3 separate regions of the Homo sapiens genome follow, and all the other regions are linked to region 3. Evidence: promoter capture Hi-C in 16 types of primary human blood cells and fetal thymus (Javierre and others, 2016). All regions are on one chromosome and are shown on one strand. Each heading gives the region's core, a stretch centred on a gene start or on the middle of the fragment in contact. The rest is flanking DNA. Distances are from core to core; before and after follow the strand shown. Region 1 holds the start of ADGRE1 (adhesion G protein-coupled receptor E1). Region 2 holds the start of NDUFA11 (NADH:ubiquinone oxidoreductase subunit A11). Region 3 holds the start of PSPN (persephin).

Region 1 (2,700 bases), core at 26-2,525, 510 kb before region 3:
CTGCATGCCTACATTTGATGTCCACAGGCCACCTATTTCTTCTAATGTAGCCTGCCAGTCAACAAGTCCCACAGATCTAAACTCCCAAATTCTATCTATTATTACTAACAAAAATTCTTCTACTCATTCATTAATTATTTTAGAGGTAATTCAGCATGCTGTTTAGGCATACAAAGTCTGAAGTCAAAGTGCTTAGGTTTAAAAATCTGGCTTCACCAATTAATGATTGCGTGGCCTTGAGGAAGTTATTTAATCTCTTTGTGCCTCAGTTTCCTCCTTGGTAAAATAGGGTATTCAGATCCACTCTTCAACAGCAGAGGAAACCCATACTTGCTACTTAGAATATGTCCCCAATATCCTCCATTCTTAAATTTGATCCAATGACCAAAACACACAAGACATAGAAGAAAAACCAGAAACACAGAAGATAAACAAGGCTGAGACAAACTGACACCTGAAGAAAGAGAAATAAGAGCACAGGAAGGGTCTATCTCATCCTTCAGGACTCAGCTCGAACTGCCCCTCCTCAACCCCAGACTTCTCCCTTCAACATAACTCCCGACCACATTCTATAACAACTTCTTTCATAGCACTTATCACTACCTGAAATTCCTATGTTTACTTATTTTTTGGGGCAACATAGTATAGTGGAAAAGCTTACAGACTCTGAAGTCAGACTGTCTGGCTTGAAATCCTGCCTCTACCCCTTATTGACTAAGTGGCCTTGGGAAAATTATTTTATCTCTTTTGCCTCAGTTTTCTCATTTGCAAAATAGGACTAATAATGACCCAATGTCATAGAAATGTTGTGACAATTGGATACACTCTATGTTTAAAGAAGTTACAGCAGTGCTAAGTGGGCTATGATCATCTGTGCCTTCTTTCCTGTCTGCTCCTACCCACTAGAATATCAGCCTCAAGAGTGCAGGAACTTAGTCTTTTTTTCTCACTGCTATATCCTCTAGTGCCTAGAACAGCACCTGACACACAGGACTTGCTCAGGTCAAATGAATGACTATAGAGAAAAATCTATCCTAACAGATGGACTTCCCTGAGCTATGGAATTTTGTCAAAGGTTCCCTGAATGAAGGTGTTTGCAGCATCCAGTCTGGACTTATGATCTCTTGGCTGGACCATCCATGGCCCTCCCATTTCTCCTGAAGTCTATTTCCAATCCAGGCCTCCCCTAGCCCCCCATTCAGCCTCACACTCACCCCAGAAGAGGAGCAGGTTGAAGCCACGCATTATGCTGTAGTTCTGTCATTCAAAGAAAAGAAACTTTTCTACTAACGCTGGGTTTTCAGTAACCAGAAGGTGTGCGAAGAGGGGAAGGCGGAGTCAGAGTTGCTCAATGCTGCCTGGTCATCATAGCCCTTTTTGCTGACTTGCTGCAACTAAAAGACAGCCTAGAAAATCCTAATTTCCCCCTTTCTTCACAATAAAGAGAAGTTAATCTGCCTAATGTATATCATTCTCTCTCTCTCTCCTTCCCATGGTCTCTCCCTTTTTCTTTCCCATCAACATCTATCTCCCATCTCTCAACACCTTCTTTCATTGCACCCAATAAAGGAGCTTCCGCTTCCTGCCTCCAGTGAAGCAAATCTCAGCCTTTAGGGTCTCTTCCCAGTCTCCCGTATAAAGACAGCCATCACAACCATCATGTACCAGGCAGTGTGCTAGGCACATTGGCAACAAAGTGTAATTTCATTATCATGTTAACCTTGTAAAGTAGGAATTCCCCTCCCTCCCTCTATTCACCAACAAAATGGAAACTGAGACTTGCAGAGGAGTTATAACTTGTCCAAGATCTCTCAGACTTGAGATTTGAACCCAGGACCCTCTGATTCCAGAGTCAAGAGCTTTAACCATCTTATTTTCCTTCAGATCTCAACTCTGTCTGACGATTATACAGCAACACTTCCACCCCATTCCCAGCTTCCTAACTCTCTCTGGTAACATCTTAGGGTCTCACAAGGGCAGACCCTCAGACAAGGATTCTAGCAAAAGTAGTTTATCAAGAAGGTGGCCCCAGAAAGCACCAGCTGGGGGAGGAGAAAGTGAATCAGGAAAGGCAAAGAGCCAATACTGGGTGTGTCTTCAAATAAGTTACATGGTGAGAAAGTGGAACTTAACCTCCCCAGGGATGACTGGGGAGCGGCATGGAACATACTCTTCAGTTATTCCAACCGAGGGGTGAGGGAGCTGAGGTATTTATATCCCACCTACTGTCAGTCATGGGTTGACTTGAGGCTTGCTCCTAGAGGGTGTCAACCCCTTGAATCTTCAGGCCTGGCCTCCAAGCAGATAGAATGGGCTCCAGTTGATGTAATCCCACTGATAACAAAGTGTAGTGACTGGCAGATATTGAAGCAGTGTCATCCATCTGGGGTAATACCCGAGGTTCATTGCCTCACACCAAGGAAATAGAAAATACAGACATGGCCGGGCACCGTGGCTCACACCTGTAATCTCAGCACTTTGGGAGACTGAGGAGGGTGGATTACGAGGTCAGGAGTTCAAGACCAGCCTGGCCAAGATGGGGAAACCCCGTCTTTACTAAAAATACAAAAAATCAGCCAGTGTGGTATGGTGTTAGGCACCTGTAATCCCAGCTACTCCGGAGGCTGAGGCAGAGAATTGCTTGAACCCAGGAGGCGGAGGCTGCAGTGAGCCGAGATCGTGCCACTGCACTCCAGCCTA
Region 2 (2,700 bases), core at 159-2,658, 470 kb after region 3:
AGTCTAGCGTCTATACAAGTGCACACGGTTCCCCCTGCCCTTCCTCGCTTTCCAGCCTCGGCTCTGCCTCCGCCTACCGCCTCGGTGAAGTCCACCTGGCCGGCCCCGGGCCTCACCGGTCCTTGGCGCGACCCAGTTCGTCTAGGGCGGCGCGCAGCTGCTGGTCGTGGAGGGCCAGGCGCTCGGCTTGGGCGTGCACCGTGCGCTCCGCCGCGTCCAGCCGCGCCTCCAGCTCCGCTGCGCGCCGGTGCACGGCTGCCAGGTGTGCGTTTGCCTCCCGGATCTGCAGGGCCGGCGGCGCCGACATGGCCCAGGCTGCTGTACAGGCCCGGCCACGCCCCCAGGCGGCCCGGAACTGGCACAGGCCCCGCCCCCGGGAGGGCCCCGCCCCACTAGACCTCGGCGCGATTGGTCGCTGACCCCGCTAGACCCCACCCCAGAGGGCTGGGTCGTGCTCTCCTCAAACCCAAACACTACCACCGGTTCCGGGATCATGAAACTCCGCCCCTGAGTTTGGGCTCACTCTAGGATTGGACAAGATCTTGACAGCCACGCCCCCAGGCTGGCCACATCCTTTGGCGGCTCGCGCAACTCAGGCTCTGGAAACAAGATTGGTCACACCTTCGATACTGTCCCCTCCCTACTTGGAAGCTAACACCAGGATTGGCCCGGACTCCGCGAAACAGCAAGCCTGACCACGCCCCCCGAACCTGTGGCCTGTCAGGGGTAGATCCAGGCACGGCCTCGCCCCTTCATCCCTTATACAGTCTCAGATTGGTCAAGTCCCTTTTAGGTTATGCCTCCAATTCTAGCCACGCCCCCAAGTCAAGCGCCTGTGTACTTCATCCGGCCTAGGGCGTGGGACAGCCGCGGGGTGAACAGAGGCCACGTCCCGCTGAGCTTCTCGTATTGTCATTGGTCACTTTCCCGATAATCCCCGCCCCTGATCCTGTCCACGGCCCAAAACAGTAGCACGCTGCTCAGACTCCAGCTTGGTGACTGACCACAGGGCATGACCACTCGCTATGCAGATTCTGACACTGGGTGTGGCCACATCCCCGCCATGCCCCGCCCCCCAGTCATTGTTTCGTCATGTCTTGCTCCTATCAACTGGAGTCCCGCCCGTCCCAGTCTGAGCCCGGCCCCTCCCCTAGTAGATAGTCCCCGCCTCTAGTAGTCCCTAACCTAGGACTCCCTGAGCTGGGACTAGCGAAATCTGTCTGCACTGATCGCAGTCGTCCTCAGTTTCACCCTCTAGGAATCGGCCTGGGGATGCACGTGCTACTCTCTTCCTCCAGGCCGGTCCCCGGCGCGTGCGCGCGATCCATGTCCATGTCCGCGCCTATCAATAAAGTTGCTCACTTGTTGCCGGCCCGCTAGCCCGAAAGGTTGCGCGCGCAGCCCGAGAAGTCTCGCGATAGCCAGCCGCGGCTGCCCTTGCGCTTCCCGAGCTGGCGGGGTCCGTGGTGCGGGATCGAGATTGCGGGCTATGGCGCCGAAGGTTTTTCGTCAGTACTGGGATATCCCCGATGGCACCGATTGCCACCGCAAAGCCTACAGCACCACCAGTATTGCCAGCGTCGCTGGTGAGCGCCGGCCGGGCCCCGAGGGTGGAGGGCCGAGGCCGCAGGGAGGTCGTGGGGTTACTGGGGGCTGTTTGGATCGAACGGGTCTGGGAGTCTCGCGGGTACGCACGTGGTTGTCATCGGGGTGTCTTGGGCGGTCGTAGGGGGGGATCTTGTGTGAAATGGATGTTGGTAGGGGGTCCAGCAGGGTTGGGGAGCACTGGGAGGTCGTGACATGCGACAAGCTAGTCCCTGGGGTCATCTGAGGCGGTCCCAAGCTATCGCCAGGCTCGGGGAAATTGTGGAGTGAGACAGGGCTATTATCAGGTCCAAGGAGCTAAGGGACCACGAGACTTTCCAACGGGGTAGAGATTGTTAGAGGGGATCATGAGTCATGATTGGGGCATCTGAGGGCGGTACAGATGTTTGAGAAAGTTTTGGGGTGGGATGAGGTCTTTCTGTGGTCAGGGGGTGCTGGGTGGTTAGGGACACCTGAAGCTTTTACTGGGACCGCCAGAGAGGTCCTAGGTGAGGTGGATCAGGAGCTACTATGAGGGTAGCCTTGCAGGGGAATGAAGGGGACCCGCAAGCCCTGGCATTCTCCTTTTTTTTTTTTTTTTTTGAGACAGAGCCTTGCTCTGTCGCCCGGGCTGGACTGCAGTGGCGAGATCTCGGCTCACTGCAACCTTCACGTCCCTGGTTCGAGCAATTCCCTTGCCTCAGCCTCCCAAGTAGCTGGGATTACGGGCTCACGCCACCGCGCCTGGCTAATTATTTTGTATTTTTAGTAGAGACGGGGTTTCACCGTGTTGGCCAGACTGATCTGGAACTCCTGGTCTCAGGCCATCCGCCCATCTCGGGCTCCCAAAGTGCTGGGATTACAGGCGTGAGCCACCATGCCCGGCCGGCCCTGGCATTCTCTTATAGAGTAAATCTGAGTCTTGCCCCTTCCAGCCTGAGCGTTTCATGGGCATCATGCCCTTTAATTCTCAGCCACAGGTTGGGACTCATCAGGTCCCAGATGGAGCTGGAAGTCCTCTTCCCTCTGATGAAGAATCTTTACAAACTGGGCCAGGCGCGGTGGCTCACACCTGTAATCCGGCGCTCAGGAGGCCAAAGTGGGAGGATCGCTTGA
Region 3 (2,700 bases), core at 111-2,610:
GTAGCTGGGATTACAGGCGCCCACCACCATGCCCAGCTAATTTTTGTATTTTTAATAGAGATGGATTTCACCATGTTGGTCAAGCTGGTCTCAAACTCCTGACCTCAGGTAATCCACCCGCCTCAGCCTCCCGAGGCATGAGCCACCACGCCAAGCCCAGGCTTTTCTTTCCATCGGAAAATTATCATCTCAATAAGCACTTCAGTAAGAAAAACCACAACATAATCATCGAAGCAATCCCTCACGGATGGAGTTGAGGCCACTTCCAGACTTTCCTAATATGAAGAAGGCATCAGATGTCCCTGTGCTGGCTGTTTCACTTGCCTGTGTGGGAGGAACCCCGCAAACAGGGCTCCTGGGGCAGAGGGTGTAATTTACAATTCCCCAGTAGCAGCTGCTCATCCAAAGAGCTGCTAGCAATTTACACCCCCACCAACAGCACAGGGTGCACCTGGGTCACACGGGTTGTGTGTGAGGGTTTTCTGATTTTCCCCAATCTTGTGGGTGCTTAGAGTCAAGCACCCCTTCGGACAATCACAAGCTGTTTGCTTGTTTTTGCATTCGAAGCTACGGGCACTGCCTTACACTCTAAGTGCCCATCTCTTTCCTCACCAAGCCGAGTAGGAGGGGTTCTGAGGAGCTCCCCTGTACCGGTGAGGGGACTGGGCTCACACGGGGCTGGGTATGGAAGCCTCGAGAGCCCTTATCTGTCTGCATCGTGCTAGACGTTACCATGACCTGGACAGCCTCCATCGCCCCGGGGGCTCTGACATGCTCAGATCCCAGGATGGGGCTGCAGTTATAGGGGTCTCAGGTTGGCCTTCCCGAGACAGGCGTCCCTGTCCCCTTGTGTCCCCACCCTTGGCTGTCCCCAGGCCTCTCCCTTTTCCTGTTTTGATGCTGGCTCAGCCAGGCCCGGAGACAGGGGCATGATGTCCTAATCCTCCAGGCGGGAGCCACCATGGAGGGTTCCCGTGGACTCAGTCCCCTGCCAAGCCACCTTTCCCAGCACTCACATATGCTCCACCTGGCACATGATACACGTGGGGGCTCCTGAGCCCCAGCACCCTGACTTAGTGGGGAGGGACCCCACCGGGGTCCCATGAAGCCCCCTGACTTCCACTCCAGGCAGCAGGTCGGGGGAACACCAGTTGCCTGCCCTGGCCGCCAGCACAGCACTCGTAAATCAGGGGGTGTCTGGGGCGTCGGAAATGGCTGTGTGGAATGTCGGGGTGGGGTAGGCTGGGGGTGAGCCCTTAACTCTTAGAAGGGTGGGGTGTGGGGCAGAAGGAGCAGATGCCTGGATTCGAGGGTGCAGGAGATGGGCTGGTGCAGACGTGGGGCCTCCTGGCTGCAGGGGCCGGCAGTGAAGAGGTTAGCTCCCAGCCCAGGCAGGGCATAAATTTGGGGCACAGCTCCCACTCTCAGGACCTGCCCGTCACAATGGCCGTAGGGAAGTTCCTGCTGGGCTCCCTGCTGCTCCTGTCCCTGCAGCTGGGACAGGGCTGGGGCCCCGATGCCCGTGGGGTTCCCGTGGCCGATGGAGAGTTCTCGTCTGAACAGGTGGCAAAGGCTGGAGGGACCTGGCTGGGTAAGGACTTCCAGGGACCCTCTGTGACTTCCCAACTTTCCCCAGCCCTGACCCTGCTCACTGTCAGCGCCCTTCCCTCCCACAGGCACCCACCGCCCCCTTGCCCGCCTGCGCCGAGCCCTGTCTGGTCCATGCCAGCTGTGGAGCCTGACCCTGTCCGTGGCAGAGCTAGGCCTGGGCTACGCCTCAGAGGAGAAGGTCATCTTCCGCTACTGCGCCGGCAGCTGCCCCCGTGGTGCCCGCACCCAGCATGGCCTGGCGCTGGCCCGGCTGCAGGGCCAGGGCCGAGCCCACGGCGGGCCCTGCTGCCGGCCCACTCGCTACACCGACGTGGCCTTCCTCGATGACCGCCACCGCTGGCAGCGGCTGCCCCAGCTCTCGGCGGCTGCCTGCGGCTGTGGTGGCTGAGGGTGCCCGGCCTGGCACCCAGAAGCTGCAGTGCTGGGGGAGCTCGGCTGACTTATTTATTGGAGACCTGGATGCAGAGACAACGAGGAGGGGAGTGGGCTGGGGCGACCAGCAGTGAGTGCAATAAAGGACACCACTCTCCCGGCCTTGTGACTTTGACCATGTGTCCAGCCAGCCACACCTGGAGCTCCCTATGGGCCAGTGCCATCCTGGGTTCCCCTGCAAATCCCGGCCCCAGCAAGCAGCCACTGCAATGTCCCAGTTAGGCTGTCCATTCCCCAACTTTATTCACAAATCTGGTGTCTGTAGAAAGCTGGGGGTCAGCAGGCTGGGGGCGGCTGTCCAGACTCCCCTGGCCCCATGCCCTCAGGGAGGGAGCGGCAGATCACGGAGATGCGCCGGCCCCGGGGAATCCGGCGTTCCCCAAAGAAGGACTCTTCATCCCGAAGGATCTCATGGGAGAAGTCATAACGGGCTGAGCCCCTGCAGGAAGAAACAGGCTGTGACTGGGTGCAAGGAGGGCAGCCCCTGCTCCAGGCAGACCTGGATTCCAGCCTCCTGGATTCCAGCCCCCTGCTGCCTCCCACACAGACCCTGGGGTAAAGGCGTCTTCGGGGAGGGCTGGATTGAGGGAAAGTACCCAGGGCACAGGGTGGGCGGATGGCACATTCTTGGAGGGGTGGGTGCTGCCTGGATGGAGG

Evidence for each region. The method cuts DNA at HindIII sites, captures the fragments that hold promoters and counts their contacts. A CHiCAGO score of 5 or more calls a contact.
Region 1: the fragment with the promoter of ADGRE1 here is called in contact with the fragment with the promoter of PSPN in region 3 in 3 of 17 cell types (neutrophils, total CD4 T cells and activated CD4 T cells); the score reaches 6.6 in neutrophils.
Region 2: a contact is called between the fragment with the promoter of NDUFA11 here and the fragment with the promoter of PSPN in region 3, in 1 of 17 cell types (fetal thymus). The highest score is 5.6, in fetal thymus.

The regions. Positions count from the first base shown.
Region 1 is chr19:6,886,154-6,888,853 of GRCh38, reverse strand. ADGRE1 (adhesion G protein-coupled receptor E1) reads right to left here and starts at 1,275. Exons shown (of 21, transcript NM_001974.5): 1 at 1,215-1,275. The coding sequence starts at 1,245. RefSeq lists an enhancer at 1,222-1,281. The HindIII fragment of the contact is 2,856 bases long and covers 659-2,700 here.
Region 2 is chr19:5,902,498-5,905,197 of GRCh38, reverse strand. It overlaps NDUFA11 (NADH:ubiquinone oxidoreductase subunit A11), which reads left to right and starts at 1,408. Exons shown (of 4, transcript NM_175614.5): 1 at 1,408-1,586. The coding sequence starts at 1,490. VMAC (vimentin type intermediate filament associated coiled-coil protein) reads right to left here and starts at 326. Exons shown (of 2, transcript NM_001017921.4): 1 at 117-326. The coding sequence starts at 307. RefSeq lists a silencer at 143-492 and enhancers at 533-652, 1,226-1,520, 1,330-1,976. The HindIII fragment of the contact is 6,218 bases long and covers 1-2,065 here.
Region 3 is chr19:6,374,593-6,377,292 of GRCh38, reverse strand. PSPN (persephin) reads left to right here and starts at 1,360. Exons shown (of 2, transcript NM_004158.5): 1 at 1,360-1,591; 2 at 1,677-2,145. The coding sequence starts at 1,444. The coding sequence ends at 1,999. It overlaps ALKBH7 (alkB homolog 7), which reads right to left. Exons shown (of 4, transcript NM_032306.4): 4 at 2,043-2,482. The coding sequence ends at 2,320. The HindIII fragment of the contact is 10,611 bases long and covers 1-2,700 here.